6 separate regions of the Homo sapiens genome follow, and all the other regions are linked to region 5. Evidence: promoter capture Hi-C in 16 types of primary human blood cells and fetal thymus (Javierre and others, 2016). All regions are on one chromosome and are shown on one strand. The core of a region is centred on a gene start or on the middle of the fragment in contact, and the rest is flanking DNA. Distances in the headings are between cores, read along the strand shown. Region 1 overlaps CD96 (CD96 molecule). Region 2 overlaps PLCXD2 (phosphatidylinositol specific phospholipase C X domain containing 2). Region 3 has its middle 56 kb from the start of PLCXD2-AS1. Region 4 overlaps PLCXD2 (phosphatidylinositol specific phospholipase C X domain containing 2). Region 5 holds the start of TAGLN3 (transgelin 3). Region 6 overlaps CD96 (CD96 molecule).

Region 1 (2,700 bases), core at 63-2,562, 450 kb before region 5:
ACACAGACACATACACACACACACACACACACACACACACTTCAGTTCAATTAAGGATGGAGTGGAGTGGGATTGAAGTAAAGAGAAATGGAAGACCTATATAGAAAACTGTTTAGCTATACATAGTTTGATTCAGGTAGCCTGTATTTGGATATTGGCTCTATCATTTACCATACGTTTCATCATTCCCAAGTTGTTTCAAGTTTCTTACATAACAAATATGGATAATTATAGTGCTTTCTTTACAGGTATCACTAGCTTGGTGATTAAATGAGATAATCTGTGTAATGCACTTAAACATATAGTTCCTGCTAAAGGATAAGAGTTTGGTAAATGGTAGTTTTCAATTAAGAATAGTAATAATTATATTGAGCAAATTCTATTTCTCAGTTCCAATTAAATATGAGCCCTGCTCCTTCTTTTTATATATTGACCTCATTTGGAACCCAGTAAGACATTTGCCATGTAATGTTAGTACAAGTACACATTGACCTTGGTTTCATACATAGTTTTTTTTGTACATTCTGCCTGAACCAGTAAACAATACTATTGCCTCACGGAGGACTCAGTGTTTCCTTCATTGAGACTTGGCAACATGGACTGATGTACCTTATAGGAAATAGAATAAGTGATGCCACAAAATGAAGACAGCAATGGAGAACAGATAGTATATTATCCAGAAAGGAGGATGATGTTGCCTTTAAAGAAATGTATTTCTTAAAATAAAGAGAACCAAGGGAGTTAAGCTTGTAGCTACTAAAAACTGCAGGTCACTGGAGAGGCAGAAACCGTATCTATACTTTTTGCGGTTGGAAAATTTCCGGTCTTCTGAATGTAACTTTGCTGCTGTCATCTGGATCAGATGAAAAGCAATGGCCTCAGTGTTAGAGAAATGGTTCTGGTATTGTGATTTTGGGTACAAAGGGAGTAAAATAGAAAAGAGCAAAACAGAAGGGGGAAACATCCTTCACCACAGAGTGACCACAAATGTAAGCCTGGTACGGAGCTACAGAGTAGGCAGCTGACTAAAGGGAGGCAGTTGCCATCTGAGAGCTCTGTCAAGTTCACAACCAATAGCATATTTTCTTTCTACCCTTTACTGTTTTGATCTTCTCTTGCTTCTTCTCCTCTCACTTGTACAGTTTTCTTCTTATGCCCCTGTGCAATCTTTAAGTTTACAAGCTAGTTGGGTAAGCAAAACACACCTGAAGTGCAAACACTTATATAGTACATAAACAAATGCAAATTGAAGTGGTGCATAAGAACCTAATTTGAAAATGCTGAGGGACTTGAAGTGTTTGAGTTGATCATCTCTTCCTGTTTCTTTTCTGTTGCTGTTTGAGTCATTCTCTCTTGTCTGCTCACAACACAGTGTGTGTCTAAATCCTGTTCCCATGTTCCCCAAGGGCCTAGCTGTGAAAGGATTCTGTTCTCTTTTCACAATATTTTGTCTCTGTGTGTGTCTTAGTGCTCTGAGATTGTGGACAAGAGTGGAAATATAATAAACAGTGTGAGGTTTGCCTCTTTTTCGCTTTCACTTGACAGAGTTTCCTCCTAGGTTAGGAGATTTTCAGTCACTCCAAGAAATGCAGTTCTCTGAGTTAAGCCTTGGATTGTCATAATCTAGATTTCATTCATTTGAATGCTACTGGATCCCATAATGCTTCAGATTGTAAGATTTTGGTGCATTTTAAAATTTGTAGTTATTAAGATCAGTTATAAGAGTATAACATGGCTTTAATTTACTAGTTCACAGTAAATGCCTTGGTGGGCTGTTAATGTTATTGGAAGCAGTAGTAGCAGTGAATGCGGTTGGAGAAGTCATGGTCCTGGAAGTAGTAGTAATAGTAGCAATAAAATTTTGATACTACAATGTTGATAAGCTTGGTCTAAAACATGTTGTTATCCTGTCTAGTTTGTATTGAGCCTGAATGCTGGCTCTTCTTAAATTCCTGTATTTAGTCTTTATCCAACAAGTGTTTTTGAGTGCTTACAGTGCTAGACACTGGGCACTAGGCACAGAGTAGGCATATATGCATGACTGTGTCTTCATGAATCACAAAGTTCAATAGGAAGAAGTTGACATTCATCAAATAAGCAAACAAATATCAAATTGCAACAGTGAGAAGTGCTTCAGAAGTGAGGAAGTAGTGTATGAGAGGGTATAATAGGAAAATCAGAAAAGACTTTCTTTACTTTGTCCTTTCCTTTCCCTTCCCCCTTATTTTCATTTCCCTCTCTTCTCCCCTCCCCTCTCTTCCCCTCCCCTCCCCTCTCCTTTCCTTTCCTTTGGAAGCGCTGCTTCAACTGGAGTTAACCAAGTGAACACAGAGCTTTACAAAGAACAGGACATGCAAAGGTTCTATGGGGGAAGGAAGTTATAACAACTGGGTAGGCAGGGGAGATTTTAAAAGGTATTATGGCTGGAGCAGAGGGATTACAGGTGAGGCAGTTGACGATAAGGTTAGAAAGATTGATTAGTCCATTTAAGGAGTTTTGTCTTTATCCTAAGAGCTGTGGGAACTAATTAAAAGGTGGTTGTTTTGTTTGATTTTTTTTGTTTTGCATTTCAAAAATGCATCTTTGTGGTTCAAGTGTAGAGAATGAATTGGAGAAGGCAGAGACGATAGTGTGGATCAGTTAGAAGACAACAGCAGAAAGCTACATGAGAGATGCTGGTACCATTAAGTACAGTGGCAA
Region 2 (2,700 bases), core at 182-2,681, 300 kb before region 5:
CCGCACCTGGTTTTTTTGCAAGCTGCCTGCATTACTCTGACCTCACTTGACAAAGTATAGGCTAATAGAGAAAGAATATGCAAATTACAGACATGTGACCTAAAATTCAGACTGAGATAAAATAGACAAGCTTTAATTGAACACTCTGACTATTCGTTATAGAAAATACATGCATATCCAATATATGTTTTTAGCCCAAGCTTACGATGGACCGACCAGATGATCTTAGTTTTGATAGAAATAATATGATTTAGGTCTTGATAAAAATTTGGAGCTTACATGGCATTTAGATGACTCTCAAAAATGAGCTCAAAATAATATTTGTCTTTAAAAGAATTTTTAGAGAATAATTATTATCTATTAGAAGTTTTCTATTGATATTAGTAAACATATTTCCAAATAAATGAAAGGTGGGCTTTTTTTCCACTGAATAAGAGAATTTTCTGGATTTCATTTAAGATGGGCCAGTTTTAGTGCCAACATGTACACATAGACATGCACATAAATACTTTGGTAACCGAGAAGACCTTAGCTCCAAACACGTCTGTAGATATTCCATCCAAACTCTTGCTATCCAAACATTTGCTATAACTTATAAGATTTATTTTATCCAGAATTCACTACTTAAATAAAAAAATCCCATCGTGTGAGCTAGCAAAAACATTTAAGTTGCAGGTACACCTTGTCAAAAAGATGGAGAATGTGTTACATCCATAGTTCAGCTACCCTCCCAGCAGGCTCGAGCTGTGCATTAGCGCTCTCAACTTACCACATTATTGAGTGAGAATGTCTTCTAAGAAAGCAAAAAGCCTCTGAATAAAACAAGCACACTCGAGAGGCCTAAAAAGAAAAATTGGGTGATAAAGCATATTGAGAGAGATGAACTAACATAAACTTGGCCATACTTACATCTCTAAGAACTATGCATTAATATTTTTAATTTGTAGAAAAAAATACAGAAAAACTTCTGAAAATATTACTGGTTCTGCTGTTTATATTAGGGAAAGATTATCTGTGGATGATTACATTGGTGTTTGAGTGTTTTAATGATATTTGGTATTTGAGAAAACTGATAGGGTTTTTTTGATGGGTTGGGAAGACATTACTGTTTTTTCCATTTCAAATAATGGATTATATAGGCTTCTACTCTCAAAAAATCTGTCATTCAACATCTTTTTGGCAACAGGTTGGATTTGTTTTTCCATAAAAATCACTTGATGACATCTAATTTTATGTTGTTAAAAATAAAAAGTTTAAGAACATCCTCAGAATTTTCTGTCTTATACTTGCAAATTGTGTAGTCACTGTATTTATTTCCAAGTACTGACATAGGAGCAGACTAGAGATATTAATAATTTATAATTTTAGTTTTAGTGCCAATTTGAATTTCAACTGTAGAATACTATGATCCAAACTTACTCCTTTTGATGTTGATTTTGGGTGTAACCTAAAATAAATGACTTAAACTACAGACTTCATTTTTCCTAGCCCTAAATGTTAATTGCCATGACAGATCCTCAAATATAAATATTTACTGAGGTTTCATGGCTTTATTTAAAAACCAGAATTATTTGTTTCTCAGATAGTATCATCCAAATAAAAGATGACACAAATTTCTTAATAATTAATAATAATAACATGTTTGAGCTCATTCTATTAGCCAAGGACTCTTCTGGGTGTTTGCCTGAGTTAACTCATTTAGTCTTCACAACAGACCAATGAAGTTAGTACTGCTGTTGTCCACATTGTGCAGATGAGGAAACTGAGGCCCAGCATTTTATTCACATAACTAGTAGGCAGTAGAGCCAGGATTATGAACTCAGGCAGCCTGACAACAGACTCTGTGCCCCTATCCACTGCGGGGACACTCCATTTAGCTTATTCAGAGCTATGGTAATTCACTAAGTTAGGTGTTAGGACTCACCATTTGTGAAGTTCTTTCTTAACTAGTATCTTACAAAGTGCAAGTCTGAGTCCTTTGGGACTGTGTAGACAGAAAAATGATTTGTTGGTAGTCCTGGAAATTGCAAGTGAGAATACTTAAAAAGATTACTGGAAAAGAAGAAATTCAGTGGTTCCCAACCCATTAGTGTTCTAGAGACAGGGGATGGGAATAGAACCTTCCAGTACTGGGTCACCTTATGGATGGGAGGGAAACATTGCTGGAGGCATTGAGAGGCAGGCCAATTAAGGATAAAAAGAGACAGTGTCAGAGGTTCAGCCCAGACAAGCCAGGAACCTCAGTCTAGGGTGGTGGTCTGTCTCAGCCTTTTGTTCATAATCACTCCCTGAAGGAGTCTTATTAGGCATTTCTATTCCTTATTTCCCCCCCTCCTCCCCTGTGAAATTATAACACTCAGATGTATCTGTACTTTGTACATAGAAGAATAAGATTTTTCACTCCCTAAGAACAAATTTTTGCAATGTCAGTGCCTAAAGGCACAGATACACTGAATGGTGTCAATACACATGGGGTGGGGAGAGTGGGATCAGTGAAGCACCTGCAGGAACTAATGGGCTTCAAAGTTAGAAGGACTTAGAGACAGGAGGACCTAAGGGAGGTGAAGACAGGAGGTTTTCTTAAATATGTGAAGTCAGGAGTTCTTTGACTTAGGGTCACCATCCTCACCTACCCAGATGGGGAGTTTCTCTCTATCTTCTTATAAGCTTCACTTAACTCTTGTCTCAATCTTCCCTCCA
Region 3 (2,700 bases), core at 200-2,699, 270 kb before region 5:
TTGTTCCCTTGTGCATAAAATAGAAATAAAATCTCAACATTACCATCAGGATTTGTGGTAATATGCATGAAATGCATAACATATAATACTCTCTCAATGAATGGTAGCCATATTTATTTAAAAAACTACCAGATGCTTCTCACCATACAAGAATTTAATAGAAGAAACTCCACTATTAAATAGGACATTTGATAAAGTGACTTCCAGATTTCCCTCTGAGATTGCTGAAATCTAAAGGAATAAAAATTTCGTTTCCTCTATAAACTATTCTCGGGGCCTCTTGTCCACTTCCCAGATGCAGTTACAAGGGAATCACTTTTCTGGATAGCCAATGGCTATCAGACTGTGCTTTCTGCCCCCCACAGTCCTGCCATCTGATTTTTCCATGCAGCTCTGGTTGGATTTAAGCAGGACTAGCAGTCTGTCCTGGTGTGTAATGATTGGCTAGACCAGGCGGCTGAGGCCAGGGCAGACTCCCTCCTTCACATCTGTCAATATACCTGGCTGCAAGCAAGTTGCTGCCTGTGACCACAGTCTGCAGAGGCCAGAGAGAGCAGGAAAGGAAATGGAAAGGAACCTCACCTTCATGCTTGGGGAAAAGGAGAAACCTGTGTTAATGTGTCTTCCCAACATCCCACTCTCTTCAGCAATCGCTGGAACAGCCATGGGCCATCCCTGCTGAGTCAGGAAAGAAGCTGAGGGAAGAGTCGGGATTGAAAAGCAGCAGACAAGGTAGGTGATCTCTCTGGTCACTGGCCCTTCTCTTGTAATAACAAAATGAGCAGCATATACAGCCTCGTCACCAGAGTGTTTCTGAGGAGGGTCTGCTGGAGATATGGTAGACCCGGGTGTGTGTCTGAATTCAGTCATTTTTCTATCAGCCTGTTCTGGAAAGCAGGCTGTATTTTCCTTCTGTCTTCTATCTCTTCTGAAAATTGTTGTTGCTCCTGTACGTATTTCAGAAACTTGGAAGGTTTTTTAAAAATTTTTCATTATAACAAATTATATGTGCGATTTATTAAAATGATTTCATTGGTGGTAACTCCACAAGCATGGTTTTGTTCCAGAATTTTCGTTGCATAATTTTTTTCAATTTTCAAGACATACCAGAGAGGACAGTGTACATATACTGTAGTATATGGTATAGAATAATATATTCCGAGAAATATACTGTCCATTCACAGGGCTGTCAACCTCGTATGATAGGCTCTCCCAGGAAGTCACGTATATTTTTCTGCTTTGGAACCTAGAGAGTTAAAAGTCCTGAAATTACTGGAGCAGAATCAAGCCTATTTACCTAAGCTTATCACATCGGCAGCCAGGTCAATCATTTACTGAGACTAGGCCGTTTCTTACCCTGAATCAGGAGGACCACCAAAGCCTTTGCTGGCCTGAGTCCCTCTGTAGCAAAGGCATGGGCAACACAGAAGAAATGCTCCTCTGAAGCTATAGTCCAGATTCTCTTCTCACCAGAAGTAAGTTTTTCTCCTTCCGAGAATAGTAAATATCCCAAGACCCCCCTTCCCCAGCTCAATGATAAACAAACATGAGCAAAACTAATATGCAAACCTGATGATACCAATGCCACTCTATGTACAAAGCTTGTGGCTTTGGAGGGAGCTTCCCTCATCACTGGAGGTCTATGGGGAAGAAGGAGATGATAACTATGAAACAAGTTATTGAGTGATTCTTGAGGAAGAATAAAGTTATAAAGTAATCACCAAGGAAAACATGGAAATTTTCCCCTTCAAGTCTACACACTCTAGAAATATGTAATTTTTATCTAATATGATTCACTCTTCCTTAAGTCTGAATATAACTCCTCTAATTGCAGAAATGTTGTCATATGGTCACCACATACAACTTTCGGGCCTGTGCAGTGGTTCCTGGCTCCTATAGTCATTAGTTAGAAGCCTAGTAATGCTGAAGTCCTATTTTTCTGAACTCCCTTTAGGGAAGGAGTTGGGTCATGTAGGACAAGGTAATGTTTGACATTATTTTTGTCAATCAGTTGTGGAACTGAAGTGACTCCCCTCAGGCAGGGTTTGTGGCTGAATATTTAGTGTCTGAGGCAGTTAACTAGATGCAAGAGTGGAGGCCATTGTAGACATAAACCCTTGTGTGACTTTGGGTAAGTCTGTGGCTACCTCTCAAGAATGTTGTGGAGAATTATGGAAAACTGATACGTTTCTGTGAAGATATTAAGCACTGCAAAATGTTAAGTGTGAATCTGGCTGGTATCCAGAGGATGTTCATAGATAATGCAAGTGATGGAGGTGGTTTTGACGAGGGAAAAGGATCTTGGGGTGATCAAATGCATTGGCTAGGTCGGGCATGGCAACCCATGCCTGTAATCCTAGCACTTTGGAAGGTGAGGCAGAGGATTGCTTGAAGCCAGGAGTTCAAGACCAGCCTGAGCAACAAAGTGAGCCTCTGTCTCTACAAAAAATTTTTTTTAAAAATTTATGCATTGGCCATATTTCCCCACATTACTGAAGGCTGCCTTAGGGACAGACACACAGGTCTGACCTGTCCTTTTTTTGTAGCTTCTGGCTCAGGGCCTAAAACAAACTGGAAGCCCCTAAGGGTATGTACAGCTTTTTCTTTCCATTTCCTGAATATTGGATAGTAAGTAGAGGGAGACTATTCTTCAGATTGACTAGATTAGAATAGGCATTGTCATTGTTTTTCAACGTTAGG
Region 4 (2,700 bases), core at 77-2,576, 320 kb before region 5:
AGAAAATATCTTATTTTCCTTTATAATCCTGAATCGCAGTAGAAGGTAGCAGCGCAGTCATTGGTGACAGTTGAGTGAATAATTGAAAGTATGGAAAGTATGGAGTAAGAATGCTGGAAACATGGTTTGCAGCCACCGCTGTTTTTCATTGTGATCAGAGCTGAATAGATTGGTTAAGTTCAGCTTTCACAAATAGCCACATGAAACCATATGAAGATTTTCCAATCCATTTCTTGTTATTGCGCATAATATTCCTGAAGATTAGGCTTGATAAGGCTCATCACTAAGCCCCATTAGAAATGAAAATTTTGAGGCTGAAAATGGTCGCAAGAGTCAGAAGCAGAGCCCTGGTGTAACTTCTTTTCTAGGAGCGATTCTTTCACCCAACATCCCTCCTGCCTTCCTTCTTCCCTTGTCAAATTAGAGCTTTTCATCTTTGCTGCCTGGCTGCTGCCTCTCCCAGATCTCATTTCTTGTTCCCCTCTTTGCTTTCTTTCCACTGACCTGACCTGGTCTCCAGCCTTCCCTTGGCAGGGTCAACCCTTCCACAGGTGCTCCTCACTGCTCTCCGATTCCCAGATGATTCTCTGATCTCATGTTGCTAGTGATCATTCCCTTCTTTTCTTTTCTACCTTTCTGGAATCCTATCCTTTTCCTAGCAGTTTTGCCCTTGAGTACTTAGTGATTTCTATAGGTCTTCCTCCTGTGGCCGCACACCCTCTTCCCACATGTGTGACATGGAGACAAAATCCCTTAGTGGAGCAGGATGGAGTCATTACTCAGATCTTGCTTCTGAAAGTTGAACCAGATTTGGCATATCTAAAAGAGATTTGGAGACCACCCCAAAAGAGCACAAAATAAATTGTGTAACAAGAAGTTTTGGTTGGCTCTACTTTGAGGATAGTATGAACCGTGAGTTGGCCCTAAAACAAATCCATTTTCCTACAGGATTTGAGGTTGTGGGAAACCAAGGACCAAGCTGAATCTACCAAGGCTGACTCAATCATGAAAAAAAAAAAATCATACAAGACCAAAACTGTCTCTTAAATGAGAATCGTTTATTTTTGTTTTGTTTTGCTTTTTCCCCCCTCTGAGTGGCCATGGTGAAAAATAAAAAGACACTATGACTGTGGTGGTTCCATTAGTAGGTTTCACTCTTAAAAAGGCTCATCATTTCTCTAGCCATCTCTCCTCCTGCAAATCACAAAAGCCACAAGGAATTCCAGAATCACACATGTCTATAAACAGAAAGATCATGGATTGGTTAAGAGTATGAATACAACAGCCAGACTATCTGGATTTAAATACTGATTCTGCCCTTTACAAGCAGTGTGACTTTGGACAAATTACTTAACCTCTCTGTGCCTCAGTGTCCTTCTCTGTAACACAGGTAATCTATGCACCACCTCATTTCTTAGTGTGAGAAATAAATTAATTCATATAGTATGCTTTCTCTCACAAAATAAGCACTAGATAATAATAACAATTGTTATTATGTATCGTTTAAAAAAATCAATCAGAACATTCATTTATTGAAAGCCTGTGACTGGAATGGACAACAAAAAAGAGGTGTAAAATGCAGTTTATACCCTCAGGTAATTTACAATCTAGTTAAGGAGCTGGCTGTCCAATTAAACTGTCTGACTCAGTGTTCTCTGTCTGATCAGATTAGGGTAACTTGAATGGTTACCCTGCAAAGGAGGCTTTAAAGTTAAGGGAAGGATACACGGAGGGTTCCCCAGGATGTGAGTGCCAAGGGTGTCTTAGATGCAATAGCAGGTGGCTGATCAAGACAGCCAGAAAACTTTCTTTAGTTATTTACTCTGTCCTGTCCCATCCCAAATTCAGCTGTCAGACTGTCATCCCCAGACATCCAGAGCCTTTGGGAAAAACTCAGCCCTCTGTGACAGAAACATGTTGTTAACTTTTTTCTGCTCTCCTCATTTCCTCATCACTTGCCCTCCTAACCCAGTCATTTTGTTCCTAGCTTGAGAGTGGGAATGTTACAAAATGCTTTCCTTTGAACAAATCCTTATACATGTTTTATAATTCCTTCCCCCAGCTATTGGAATAATAGCTTCATCATCCCTCCAAACACATACATCACCCACACATGCAACACACATGTACCACCCATTACCCAACACACACACATGCACAGATACTTAGCTATGACGTTAGCCTCAGCCTCAACCTCCACTGGGCCCAAATCTCAATACATGCTATCGTTCACCAGTCATAAATATCTTGCAAAACATGCCCACTGACACTTCAGACCCTTGGAGCGTGCTGCTTGCACCTGCAAGCTCCTCTCTCAGACATGTTTCTGAAGCTGAGGAGTTGGTTTCTAACACGTGATCTGACCTGACCTCCACTAGATTGACAGGTAGCTTCTACATCTCTCTCCTGCCTCTAGGAACTTAGGAGCACAGGCACACTAAAGGTAATGCTAGTGAAATGCTTTAGCGTCCTGCAACTTTGCCTCTGGGAAAATCGCAAACCACTTTGCCAATGCTGACTAACCCCAATTAGAGTTTCAAACCAGGCCTGCAGAGGAGGGATTATTTGTAGACATTGTAATAGGTGGGTGTGTTTGTGTGTGTGAAAAGAATTTGAACACGCATCAAGAACCAAATTTAGGTGGAGGAGATCTGTGACTAAATTTATTTTAGTATTTACATTTGTGGTTAAGCAGGAGTC
Region 5 (2,700 bases), core at 201-2,700:
TAGTTTTCTGTTTTCAGAGGACTGTCTGCCAGGCCTTCAACGACTGACCGCTAAGTCTTTTTCAGGCAAACCACCCACATATCTCCTAAGTAATTAAATTTTCATTAGTCCAGGCATCAGCCGGTAGGAGATTTTTCTCAATACATGTATTATTTGAGGAGTCATTTCCTGCATAGCTTCTAATCAATTTCCCACAGGGACAAAGATCATCATCCCATGTACCCAGAATTGCTTTATTTAATATGCTTGAGTCAATTTATCAATCTGTTTTCAATGCAAGAATTGTATTTTATTCCTCCTCAGTCCAGTAGTTGGCATAAACACTCAGTAAATATCTGTTGAATGAAGAAATGAACCAAACGAAAAAAAATGTGGAATTTTTCTCATGAAAAACACCCAGAGAATTACACAACACCAATGAGACTCAATCTTTACCCACAAATGGCTTACAGTCTAGGAGGACAAACTGCCAAGCCCTTTAGCTGTTATAAAAATGTGGGGCCAACTTAGAGCTAATGGTTTCTCCTGAGTGCTTGTTTGCCCATGAGAAATATTCAGTTACTTCTGACAATATGTCGGTTGTGCCTTCACGGTCCTTACTTCAGATGAAGTCTTTACATTCTATCAAAACCTTTCACTCTAAGAGTTCTTAGTCGTTGAGTTTTGTTTAATTTATAAAACTTGCCGGGCGTGGTGGCTCATGCCTGTAATCCCAGAACTTTGGGAGGCCGAGGCAGTCAGATCACCTGAGGTCAGGAGTTCAAGACCAGCCTGACCAACGTGGCAAAACCCCATCTCCACTAAAAATACAAAAATTAGCCAGGCCTGGTGGCACACACCTGTAATCCTAGCTACCTGGGAGGCTGAGGCAGGAGAATCGCTTGAACCCAGGAGGCAGAGGTTGCAGCCAGCCGAGATTGTGCCACTGCACTCCAGCCTGGGCAACAGAGCGAGACTCTGTCTAAAAATATATAGTAAGAATTATAATAATAATTTATAAAACTTGTTCTTAGTGTCTTTCAGTTAAGAGTAGCATGAAAAAAATACCTCCCTTGAATAAGTCAAACTGAGGCACAACAGTTTCAGGATGGAAGTTTCTGGGTGAAGTTGGGCTGGCAGCTGAACAAGTAAATGATAGCAGCTCTCAGTCCCTCCCCTCCTGTCCTGCCAGACAGTTGTTACCTCAGGGCAGGGGGAAAGTAGCTTGGCTATTCCCGACAGATGGACAGTTGGTAGAACGGACCCTCCCACAGGCCCTCATCCCCTTGTGCAGCTGCTGGCCTCGTAGACAATCGGCTGTCTCCCCAGAAGAGGGAAAGAATTGTGCAGATGAGAAAGAGGCTCTCAGCGGGAGGGAGGCAGGCGGGCTTGATTGACACAGGAGAGGGCTGGCTTTTTGGAGGGCTCTTAGCAACGGCCCTGGTTGAGCCCCCTCAGCCATGAGAAAATCAAATCAATGTGCCATTCTTCCAGGCGCGAGGCAGCAGCGGCTGCAGTTCAACATGAAAGGAGGCTTCCTCCCTGCCTGCTAATTACCTGCTCTTCCCGATCTCATCGTTTCTGCCTTTGCAAAGTGCTACTGAGAAGGGGGAAGAAACGTCCGCCACCCATCCCCCTTGCTGCCTGGGGGTTCAGACTTGATTGTGAGTCCGTGTTATATCATCTGGTCTCATTGATAGGCGGGATAGGGAGGGGGATTCCAGCCCCCCTGGACCGGCCGGAGGTTTATTCTAGAGTTACTGGCGGGTAGCTGTGCTTTTCTTTCCCGTTTGTAGGTGAAACCCCATTGGCTTCATTGGCTCCTTGATTTAAACCACGCCCGGCTTTCTGCCCTCTTTGCTGCTGCTGGGCCAGGTTGCCCAGCCATATCCCAGCCCCGTCTGCAGGGAGCCGGAGGCTGCTGCTGCTGCTATTGTGTGGATGCCGCGCGTGTCTTCTCTTCTTTCCAGAGATGGCTAACAGGGGCCCGAGCTATGGCTTAAGCCGAGAGGTGCAGGAGAAGATCGAGCAGAAGTATGATGCGGACCTGGAGAACAAGCTGGTGGACTGGATCATCCTGCAGTGCGCCGAGGACATAGAGCACCCGCCCCCCGGCAGGGCCCATTTTCAGAAATGGTTAATGGACGGGACGGTAAGGCCGGCAGCGATCTCGGTTGCTGGGGCGGTGGGCAGGGAAACCCTCCAGGGCCCTTTCTTTTAACGTAAGGCTGCGGGAAGAGCTGCTGTTGCCAAGCTCTATGTCTCACCGGGAGGGGATGAGAATGCCTTTATTTCTTCAGGGTTGGAAGATTTGGGCTCCATGCACTATTCCCTAGCTAGCTTGGGGGTTCTCCACTCACCCTAGCATTACATCTCCCTTCTGAGTTGGCAAATTCGAAGCCCTTTTGATTTTTCTAATGAGAATAGAGATAAGTATGTCCTTGTAATTTCCCCAGCCTTCCTGGTGCATCAGCTCTTCTGGGGCCATTTCTTTCCCTAGGGGATCGTGTTGGTTACACAGTAAAACAAAGAAGGGAGGAGGGGGACTAGCCACCTTCACATTCTTGTGGGAGCCATGCACCCTGGAAGTGTTCAGTGTCTGTTTATTGAGTGGATGCGTTCTCATGAAACTGAAAGGAGTCCTTATTTGTTAACTGCATTTCTGACCAAATGCTCGTGTGTGTTTGAGGGTTTGAGGGCCGCAGGCTCTGTGATTCAAAC
Region 6 (2,700 bases), core at 25-2,524, 420 kb before region 5:
ATAGAATAAGTCTCCCCAAAACACCCATGAAAACCTTGAAATCAATACCCAAATATATATCAGATCTATTCCACATGCCCTAAACCCAGCATATTTCTTCTTCCCAAACAATGTCCATTGCTCAACTCTTCATTGTCTAACAGACCAGGGACAAGAGGGGCTACTCCAGCAATTTTGCCACTTCCTGCATCTCCTTCACTGGTCTCCTTTGGTTTTCCTTTCCTTGGCAGGGAGTCACCTGCCCATCACAGGGTTCTGTTCCACTCCTAAATTCCAAATCTGATTGTCCTCAACCTCAAAGAAAATCTGTCTCACCCTGTCACCTCTGCAATTTTTAGTAGTTGTTCTTTCTTTCAGGGCTTTTATTCTGCTGGTATTTGTTAACAGGAGGTAAGAGATACCTCTCCATCCATTAGTGTTTCAGGTTGTATCTTGGTTTTGGGTTCCCCTGAAATAAAACATCGAGATAAGGATTGCGGTTAATTTATTTGAAAGGCCATCCTGGGAAACATCAGAAAAGGAGTGAGAAAGTGAGTCAGGGAAGGGAAGGAAGATAAGAAAATGTACAAGATTATATCAGTTAGCACCATAGGTTTAGAGCTCATCTTACTGGGAGACAGCATAGAACACACATCAGAGTTATCCCACATGAAGGGCAAGAAAGCTGGGGTATTCATCTACCATCTCTCCATCTGTATCACTATTAACTCTCTGGGACTCCCAGTTTTTACTACTTGTGGACTAAGTATACTCCCATAATCTCAATAAATCATTATGCAAAGAGTCATCTAGTCATCAAAGAGTTATCCCAGTAAGAGATCTTCAGTATGCCAAGGTAAATGGCTAGTGGCTGTAGCAGGCACTGACAGCATCTGTGACTGGAGGTTTAGCATTCTTTCCACTGAGTCATAGAAGGCTGTGTTTGCTATGCTCAAGAATTTACTTGAAGCCACTTCTGTTCAACACGATGTACTTAATGTCTAGTTTGTGCTGGGCAGTTAAGTGCTAGAGATGAAGAAATTGATAAAATACTGGCTCAGAGGCACTTAAAATCTAGTAAAACAACAAAATCACTGAAATATTCCCTGATATTTCCTAGTGCCAAGCAACCAAACAAGAATCAAATGTTTCTCTGCTCCACTTCAGGGACCTTTATAATGAGACTTTATTTCTAAGCTGCATTAGTTCATTTTCATGCTGCTGATAAAGACATACCCAAAACTGGGAAGAAAAAGAGATTTAGTTGGACTTAAAGTTCCACATGGCTGGGGAGGCCTCAGAATCATGGCAGGAGGTGAAAGGCACTTCTTACATGGCAGCAGCAACAGAAAAATGAGGAAAATCAAAAGCATAAATGCCTGATAAACCCATTAGATCTCATGAGACTTATTCACTATAGCATGGTAAAGACCAGCCCTCATGATTCAATTGCCTCCCACCAGGTCCCTTCTGGGAGACACAATTCAAGTTGAGATTTGGGTGGGGACACAGCCAAACCATATAATTTCACCCATGGCCTGTCCCAAATCTCATGTCCTCACATTTCAAAATCAATCATGCCTTCCCAACAGTCCCCCATATTCTCAACCCATTTCAGCATTAACCCAAAAGTCCAAGTCCAAAGTCCCATCTGAGACAAGGCAAGTCCCTTCTGCCTATGAGCCTGTAAAATCAAACGCAAGTTAGTTACTTTCTAGATATAATGGGGGTATAAGCATTCAGTAAATACAACCATTCTAAATGGGAGAAATTGGCCAAAACAAAGGGGCTGCAGGCCCCATGCAAGTCCAAAATCCAAAAGGGCAGTCAAATCTTAAAGTTCCAAAATGATCTCCTTTGACTCTATGTCTTGCATCTGGGTCACACAGATGCAAGAGGTAGGTTCCCATGTTCTTAGGCAGTTCTGTCCCTGTGGCTTTACAGGGTACAGCCTCCCTCCTGGCTGCTTTCACAGGCTAGTGTTGAGTGTCTGCAGCTTTTTCAGGAGCACAGTGCAATCTGTTGGTGGATCTACCATTCTGGGGTCTGGAGGATGGTGGCCCTCTTCTCACAGCTCCACTAGTCAGTGCCCCATTAGGGACTCTGTGTGGGGGCTCCAACCCCACATTTCCCTTCTGCACTGCCCAAGCAGAGGTTCTTCATGAGGGCCCCGCCCTTGCAGCAAACTTTTGCTGGGTATTCAGACATTTCCATAAATCTTCTGAAATCTAGGTAGATGTTCCCAAACCTCAGTTCTTGACTTCTCTGCACGCACAGGCTCAACACCATGTGGAAGCTGCCAAGGCTTGGGGATTCCACACTTTTAGAAGCAATGGCCCAAGCTGCACGTTGGCCCCTTTCAGCCATAGCTGGAATGGCTGGGACACAGGGCACCAAGTCCCGAGGCTGCACACAGCAAGGGGACCCTGGGCCCAGCCCAGGAAACCACTTTTTCCTCCTGGGCCTCTGGACCTGTGATGGGAGGGGCTGCTGTGAAGGTCTCTGATGTGGCCTGGGGACATTTTCCCCATGGTCTTGTAGATTAACATTAGGCTCCTTCCTACTTATGCAAATTTCGGCAGCCAGCTTGAATTTCTCCCTAGAAAATGGGTTTCTCTTTTCTATTGCATAGTCAGGCTGCAAATTTTCCAAACTTTCATGCTCTGCTTCCCTTATAAAACTGAGTGCCTTTAACAGCACCCAATACACCTCTCGAATGCT

What was found. The method cuts DNA at HindIII sites, captures the fragments that hold promoters and counts their contacts. A CHiCAGO score of 5 or more calls a contact.
Region 1: a fragment that was not itself captured here is called in contact with the fragment with the promoter of TAGLN3 in region 5 in 1 of 17 cell types (activated CD4 T cells); the score reaches 6.5 in activated CD4 T cells.
Region 2: a fragment that was not itself captured here is called in contact with the fragment with the promoter of TAGLN3 in region 5 in 7 of 17 cell types (endothelial precursors, erythroblasts, activated CD4 T cells and 4 more); the score reaches 8.1 in endothelial precursors.
Region 3: a fragment that was not itself captured here is called in contact with the fragment with the promoter of TAGLN3 in region 5 in 1 of 17 cell types (naive CD4 T cells); the score reaches 5.0 in naive CD4 T cells.
Region 4: a contact is called between a fragment that was not itself captured here and the fragment with the promoter of TAGLN3 in region 5, in 5 of 17 cell types (M1 macrophages, total B cells, fetal thymus and 2 more). The highest score is 7.8, in M1 macrophages.
Region 6: a fragment that was not itself captured here is called in contact with the fragment with the promoter of TAGLN3 in region 5 in 1 of 17 cell types (activated CD4 T cells); the score reaches 5.4 in activated CD4 T cells.

What each region holds. Positions count from the first base shown.
Region 1 is chr3:111,546,908-111,549,607 of GRCh38, forward strand. All of the region lies in intron 2 of CD96 (CD96 molecule), which reads left to right. Among named protein-coding and RNA genes, the nearest start is that of CD96, 6.1 kb to the left of the region's middle. The HindIII fragment of the contact is 1,137 bases long and covers 745-1,881 here.
Region 2 is chr3:111,696,537-111,699,236 of GRCh38, forward strand. All of the region lies in intron 1 of PLCXD2 (phosphatidylinositol specific phospholipase C X domain containing 2), which reads left to right. Among named protein-coding and RNA genes, the nearest start is that of PLCXD2-AS1, 20 kb to the left of the region's middle. The HindIII fragment of the contact is 2,467 bases long and covers 199-2,665 here.
Region 3 is chr3:111,731,972-111,734,671 of GRCh38, forward strand. It overlaps a transcript of PHLDB2 not described here. Among named protein-coding and RNA genes, the nearest start is that of PLCXD2-AS1, 56 kb to the left of the region's middle. RefSeq lists an enhancer at 2,658-2,700. The HindIII fragment of the contact is 299 bases long and covers 1,301-1,599 here.
Region 4 is chr3:111,679,451-111,682,150 of GRCh38, forward strand. All of the region lies in intron 1 of PLCXD2 (phosphatidylinositol specific phospholipase C X domain containing 2), which reads left to right. Among named protein-coding and RNA genes, the nearest start is that of PLCXD2-AS1, 3.4 kb to the left of the region's middle. The HindIII fragment of the contact is 4,779 bases long and covers 1-2,700 here.
Region 5 is chr3:111,997,472-112,000,171 of GRCh38, forward strand. TAGLN3 (transgelin 3) reads left to right here and starts at 1,451. Exons shown (of 5, transcript NM_001008272.2): 1 at 1,451-1,643; 2 at 1,950-2,131. The coding sequence starts at 1,952. The HindIII fragment of the contact is 5,204 bases long and covers 1-2,700 here.
Region 6 is chr3:111,581,388-111,584,087 of GRCh38, forward strand. The region is part of intron 4 of CD96 (CD96 molecule); the gene reads left to right. Among named protein-coding and RNA genes, the nearest start is that of ZBED2, 13 kb to the right of the region's middle. The HindIII fragment of the contact is 7,112 bases long and covers 1-2,700 here.